Regions from separate parts of the Homo sapiens genome. Here region 1 is linked to region 2. Evidence: promoter capture Hi-C in human tissues and cell types (Jung and others, 2019). All regions are on one chromosome and are shown on one strand. Each heading gives the region's core, a stretch centred on a gene start or on the middle of the fragment in contact. The rest is flanking DNA. Distances are from core to core; before and after follow the strand shown.

Region 1 (3,351 bases), core at 688-3,187, 120 kb before region 2:
TGGCAGGACACAGTGAAAAAAGAAAACTGTAGGCCAATAGCCCGATGAACATAGATCCAAAAATCCTCAATAAAATACTAGCAAACCAAATCCAGCAGCATGACAAAATCATAATTCAGCATGATCAAGTGGGCTTTATTCCTGGGATGCAAAGATGTTTCAATATATGCAAATCAATAAATGTGACTCACCACATAAAATTAAAAACAAAAATTATATGATCATCTCAATAGATGCAGAAAAAAACATATAATAAAATCCAACATCCCTTCATGATAAAAACCCTCAAAAAACTAAACATCGAAGGAACACACCTCAAAATAATAAGAGCCATCCAGGACAAACTCACAGCCAACATCATACTGAATGGGCAAACGTTGGAAGCATTCCCCCTAAGAAATGGAAAAAGACAGGGATGCCTACTCCCACTACTCCTATTCAACATAGTAGTGGAAGTCCTAGCCAGAGCAATCAGGCAAGAAAAAGGAATAAAAGGCATCCAAATAGAAAGGGGAAGTCAAATTATCTCTGTTCACTGATGATATGATTCTATACCTAGAAAACCCTACAGATTCCTCCAAAATACTCCTAGACCTGATAAATGACTGGCAGTTTCAGGATGCAAAATCAGTGTATAAAAATCAGTAGCATTACTATATACCAACAATTGTCAAGCTGTGAGCCAAATAAAGAACAGAATCCCAATTACAATAGCCACACACAAAAATAAAATACCTAGGAATACATCTAACCAAGGAAGTGAAAGTGAAAGATCTCTACAAGGAGAACTAAAAAACACAAATAAATGAAAAACATTCCATGTTCATGGATTAGAAGAATCAATATCATTAAAATGTCCATACTGCTCAAAGCAATCTACAGATTCCACCCAATTCCTACCAAATTATCAATGTCATTTTTCATAAAATGGAATCATTCTACCAAAAAGACACCTGCATGTGTATGTTTGTCACAGCACTATTCACAATGGCAAAGTGATGGAATCAACTTAGGTGCCCATCAATGGTGGACTAGATAAAGAAAAAATGGTACATACACATCACGAAATACTATGCAGCTATAAAAAAGAATGAAATCATGTCCTTTGCTGCAACATAAATGCAGCTGGAGGCCTAAGTGAATGATCCTAAGTGAATTAACACAGAAACAGAAAATCAAATGCTGTATGTTCTCACTTTTAAGTGGGAGGTAAACAATGGGTACACGCAAACATTAAAGATGGAAACCATAGACAGTGGGGACTCCAAAGTGGGGGAGGGAGGGCGGAGGACAAGGGTGGGAAAACTGCCTATTGGGTACTATGTTCACAATTTTGGTAATGGGTTCAATAGAAGCCCAAACCTCAGTATTATGCAATATACCCATGTAACAAACCTGCACATGTGCTCCCGAATCTAAAATAAATATTTTCAAAAAGCAATTGACCTATATTATTAACATTTTAATCTACCTGTATATATGTTTTAATCTGCATGTGTTCATGCTTTGAAATATGGTACAGGTACTATGACAATCCCTGTTCTGTAGGGGAGGAAGAAGAGACACATCTCTTCCCCCACATCACAAAGTCAGGAAGGAACAGACCTCACGGAGTCCAGTCTGTCACTGGCTCATGCTTTGTGCCCTTAAAAGGCAAACTGGATAAGTGCCATTCTAGAGAATCAGACAAAATTCAAGTGGAAGAGAGGGGAGGGGAAGAAGACGTCAGCTGGGGCCTGTTTGGAGCATCCCAGCTGAGGCTGCGCAAGGAGGGAGGCACGCAGTTGTGGAATTTGTTCCCCTTTTTGCATACTGACCAGCCCTGGCAACGGAGCTCAAGGCATCTTTGTGCCACTGCTCAACAGTGAGTGATGTCATGGGCACGGCCAGGTCTTTATCAGTTCTGCCGGATAAATAGCCAACTGCACTAGGTCTGGAGAGACAGCAAGGTGCTGTGCGGCAGAGCATTTGGGGTCTCAAAGAAGCAGGTGAGCCTGGGCCCGAGGGGCTGGGTGGAGGAGCACCTTGGTGCTTCTCTGCTGGGGAAGGGACAGGGGACAGGGCATGCTCAGGAAGACAGGCAGGCTGACCCCGCCTGGAAGGCACCCAGAGACAAGAGGGGTGGGCGTAGTGACCTCGTGCCCTTTTAGGGGAGATGCTGCTGGCCAGAGGCCGTTAGGGCCCCCACTACCAACTCCATGTTACTCTCTCTCACCAGTGGCCACCACCATGGATACAGGCCCCGACCAGTCCTACTTCTCCGGCAATCACTGGTTCGTCTTCTCGGTGTACCTTCTCACTTTCCTGGTGGGGCTCCCCCTCAACCTGCTGGCCCTGGTGGTCTTCGTGGGCAAGCTGCGGTGCCGCCCGGTGGCCGTGGACGTGCTCCTGCTCAACCTGACCGCCTCGGACCTGCTCCTGCTGCTGTTCCTGCCTTTCCGCATGGTGGAGGCAGCCAATGGCATGCACTGGCCCCTGCCCTTCATCCTCTGCCCACTCTCTGGATTCATCTTCTTCACCACCATCTATCTCACCGCCCTCTTCCTGGCAGCTGTGAGCATTGAACGCTTCCTGAGTGTGGCCCACCCACTGTGGTACAAGACCCGGCCGAGGCTGGGGCAGGCAGGTCTGGTGAGTGTGGCCTGCTGGCTGTTGGCCTCTGCTCACTGCAGCGTGGTCTACGTCATAGAATTCTCAGGGGACATCTCCCACAGCCAGGGCACCAATGGGACCTGCTACCTGGAGTTCTGGAAGGACCAGCTAGCCATCCTCCTGCCCGTGCGGCTGGAGATGGCTGTGGTCCTCTTTGTGGTCCCGCTGATCATCACCAGCTACTGCTACAGCCGCCTGGTGTGGATCCTCGGCAGAGGGGGCAGCCACCGCCGGCAGAGGAGGGTGGCGGGGCTGGTGGCGGCCACGCTGCTCAACTTCCTTGTCTGCTTTGGGCCCTACAACGTGTCCCATGTCGTGGGCTATATCTGCGGTGAAAGCCCGGTGTGGAGGATCTACGTGACGCTTCTCAGCACCCTGAACTCCTGTGTCGACCCCTTTGTCTACTACTTCTCCTCCTCCGGGTTCCAAGCCGACTTTCATGAGCTGCTGAGGAGGTTGTGTGGGCTCTGGGGCCAGTGGCAGCAGGAGAGCAGCATGGAGCTGAAGGAGCAGAAGGGAGGGGAGGAGCAGAGAGCGGACCGACCAGCTGAAAGAAAGACCAGTGAACACTCACAGGGCTGTGGAACTGGTGGCCAGGTGGCCTGTGCTGAAAACTAGGTCCTCCGGGGGAGGAGGGTGTAGCTGGCGTGTCATCCTCAGGGCGCTTCCTCGCTCACGCCAGGAGGGACTTGGAGTGGC
Region 2 (3,405 bases), core at 276-2,775:
TACTCACAGATCGCAATTTGTCGATGTTCAGGAACGGGGTGTTAAAGGCCTAGGCAGAAACGCAGGGTGTTAGGAAAGTTGCTAAGAAGCAAAAAGAGAGAGAGGACAGACTCGTGGCTGGAGGGCCGGGGAAAACAGACGGCTTACCTCGGGTCGTGACGCATAATTCTCAATGGTGCTTTCTTCCTGGAAAAGGAGAGGGAGAAAAGGCGGCAGGGGGTCACGTGATGCCAGGGCCCTTGCCCACATCCCTGTCTGCCAGCTCTGCCTTCATCCACAGCCCAGTCCCCGAAAGAACGCAACCCATTCCCCACCATGGTCTCCGTTCCAGTCGCGCACATGGTTGGCGGATGTGCAGGGTGAGGAGGGGGAATTGGAGAATGGTACATGTAAGCAGTGTCACCATGGGCAGCAGGCAGAAAGCCTGGAGCCGAGCATTCCTCTCCGGAAAAGCTAGCTAGTGCTGTCCTGCAGTTGACTTAAGTCTAAGAGGTGGGGTGTTCTGGAGACACCCACGCTCAGTCCGTATAGCTGGATGGGAAAGATTTGCGAGCAGGTGGGAGCCCAGCTGCTGAGGTGACCCGCCTGCCTCTCACTGATCGAGGTTGCTTTGCTTTGTGGATTTATTGCCACCACTGTTGGAGGTTCCATAATCCCCCTCCATGGGGACCCCACCCCAGGCCTCAGTGTGTCCCATCGTGTCTTCCCCATGACAGAGCCCAACACGGAGCCCGCAGGCTGGATCCAGATGCTTAGATCTCATAAAAATTTGGTCATTTGTTTTTTGGTTTGAATTAGACATTTTGAATTAGTAAGAATTCATAAATTCATCCAGATTTCTAGTTTCCCCTGAAAAATGTAAAACTCTAGGCACATCTTCCCAATCCATGGCGTCAGGTGGGGTGAAAGCTGCCCTTTCAGACTGGGAAAGTTGGCCCCATTTCACCTCAGGCCCTGACAGCCCCCCCAGCTCAGTGACACCACTGGCTTGGTCCTTAGCAGCTGAGCCTGTGCCCCTGTCTTAGACTTTTAAATCCGGAATAGGCATCAGGATTCCTCTCTGGCTGAGGACTGGATGGTAAAGATTCTCACTGTGGCCTATGCTCCAGAGACAGCAGGGAGCCACCCGTCACCTGGGCACCACTCCCAGGGGCACAAATGAAGCAAAGAGGAGCTAAGCAGGGGTGTCTCCAGAACACCCCAGCCCCACTCCTCTTTGAGTTAAGTCAGCTGCAGGCAGAACTAGCTAGTTTTTTGCTTTGCTTCACCCTCTCCACCTGCTGCCCATGTGGATGCAGGCCTGGGTTTGGAGCTGCTCTGCCTCACATTGCCGTTCTCCAGTTCCCCCTCTTCCCCTGCACGTCCCCAGGCATGTGTGCAGCTGGAACGGAATGGGTGAACACTCTTGAGAGCCCATGGTGGAGATAGTCTGAACCCAGACCACCCACTCAGTCCCAAGGTTCAGTACACGAGCCTCCCCAACACACTTCACCATCCCTTCCAGAAAGAGGAGCATCTCTGTCCCAAATGTCTCCCCAGGGATGCTCTGTTCCCTCCTCCCTTCCTCAGAGCCCCAGTTTCTTCAGCCCCCATCAGAATCCAAAACTAAGAGCCACTTATCCAGGAATGGACAGGAGGTAGAGAGATGGAGGGGTAGGTGGGTAACACGTATAAGAATAAAAATGCAGGTGACGTGCTCACCTCAGGACCACCCAGGGTGGCTCCCTGGGCAGAGTGGAGCACCAGGAGGGAGAGGAGCACCACGGCAGGAAGGACCGGGATCTTCATGGCGTCAAGTTTGGGGTGCTCTGAGGCGGGGCCTCAGTGCTTGCTCTTTATATTGCCAAGGAGGCAGATGAGCACAGAAATGGGGTCCCCACCCCACTGACTCACCCCCAGATCTTGTCGCCCACCCCCGGGGCTCTGGGAGGGGGAGGCATGGACTGTTCCTCATTTGCCTCGGATTTCTCAATTCGCATTCTGCCCCAGGCACGTGGAAGGTAACACTGCAATGGGTCTCTTCATGCAGATGGGGCTGGGACAGAGACAGGTTGGACCTGTCCCTCCAAGGGATTGGCAGTGGTACCCAAGCAACCTCTCCTTTTGTCTTTGTCTCTTTTCGTTATATCCCTCATTCCTCTCTTAGAATTCAGGCTTTTTCTTTTCTTTTCTTTTCTTTTTTTTTGACAGGCTCTCACTCGTTGCCCAGACTGGAGTGCAGTGGTGTGATCACAGCTCACTGCAGCCTTGACCTCCCAGGCTCAAGCAATCCTCCCACCTCAGTCTCCCTAGTAGCTGGGACTAGAGGCACGCATCACCTCACCTAGCTAACTTTTTTATTTTCTTGTAGAGATGTTGCAGCTTTTTTTTTTTTTAATTTTCTCGTAGAGATGAAAATGTCTCGCCATGTTGCCCAAGCTGGCCTCAAACTCCTGGACTCAAGGGGTCCGCCTGCCTTGACCTCCCAAAGGACTATAGGTGTGAGCCTGCGCTCCATGCTCATTCAGGCCTTTTCTTCCACCCTACCAAAATCTATGTAAACTCTTTAGCTTGGCATTGAAGGTGGTCCATGCTCTGAACTCAACCCACCTTTATAACTTCTTCCTTTACTAGCTTTGTACATACCTCACATTCTGGCCAAATTAGACCCCTTACCAACTATATCCTTCTTTTTCCCTCTTCAAAGCATCCGGCCATGCTGTTCCTTATTCCTAACATGGCCTTCTCTCATCTCCAGTTCTCAGAACCCAACACTCATCTTGGATGAAGCTTCCCAGATTTTTCCTGCAATGCCCAGTCCTTCTCTCCACACCTTTCCTTTCACAGAATTCCCATATTCATTCGTTTGTATGTCTCTGGCATTGTATCTAAGTAAGTCATGTTCTCGCCTTGTTTCCCTTTTAGAGTATCAAGTTCCTTGAGGTCAGGAGCTGTATCTTGATCAGCTTTACATCCCCCTAGAACCATGGCTCACACAGAACCCAGGTAGAGTCAGCATTGGTCAGATATGATACGTTAGACTTAGTATTCAGGCATCCTTCAGCCACAGTGTACATTTTCCTTTCATGGGGCTGAACCTTTCCATTTTCCAACTGCCCGTCTTTTACTCTTGGGTCTTCAGAGAAATGACTGTCTTGAGCTAAGATGACAAGGAACAGGGAACAAAAAACAGCTCTTAGGGTGCCCAGTTGGAGATGGGATCCAGGTACCCTGAACCTGGAGTGCCCACTCCATGTCATTGCCCTAACCCACCTTGCCCCACCCCCAGTTTGGAAGTTGGATCACCTCACTGTGACACAATGTCCTAGTCAAGCAGCCTTCTCCACAGTGAGGTTCAGGTGGCCAAACCGGCTCCTGCTGTAACAGGGAGGGGCTGGGACATGGACCGGCGCTGTCAGGGAAAAG

Evidence for each region. The method cuts DNA at HindIII sites, captures the fragments that hold promoters and counts their contacts. A contact is called where the count stands out against the background at its distance.
Region 1: a contact is called between the fragment with the promoter of GPR42 here and a fragment that was not itself captured in region 2, in 3 of the 25 tissues and cell types used here (H1 embryonic stem cells, lymphoblastoid cells and spleen).

The regions. Positions count from the first base shown.
Region 1 is chr19:35,369,131-35,372,481 of GRCh38, forward strand. GPR42 (G protein-coupled receptor 42) reads left to right here and starts at 1,938. Exons shown (of 2, transcript NM_001348195.2): 1 at 1,938-1,988; 2 at 2,219-3,351. The coding sequence starts at 2,230. The coding sequence ends at 3,270. The HindIII fragment of the contact is 14,423 bases long and covers 1-3,351 here.
Region 2 is chr19:35,488,655-35,492,059 of GRCh38, forward strand. KRTDAP (keratinocyte differentiation associated protein) reads right to left here and starts at 1,810. Exons shown (of 6, transcript NM_207392.3): 1 at 1,702-1,810; 2 at 148-186; 3 at 8-49. The coding sequence starts at 1,788. The HindIII fragment of the contact is 6,388 bases long and covers 1-3,405 here.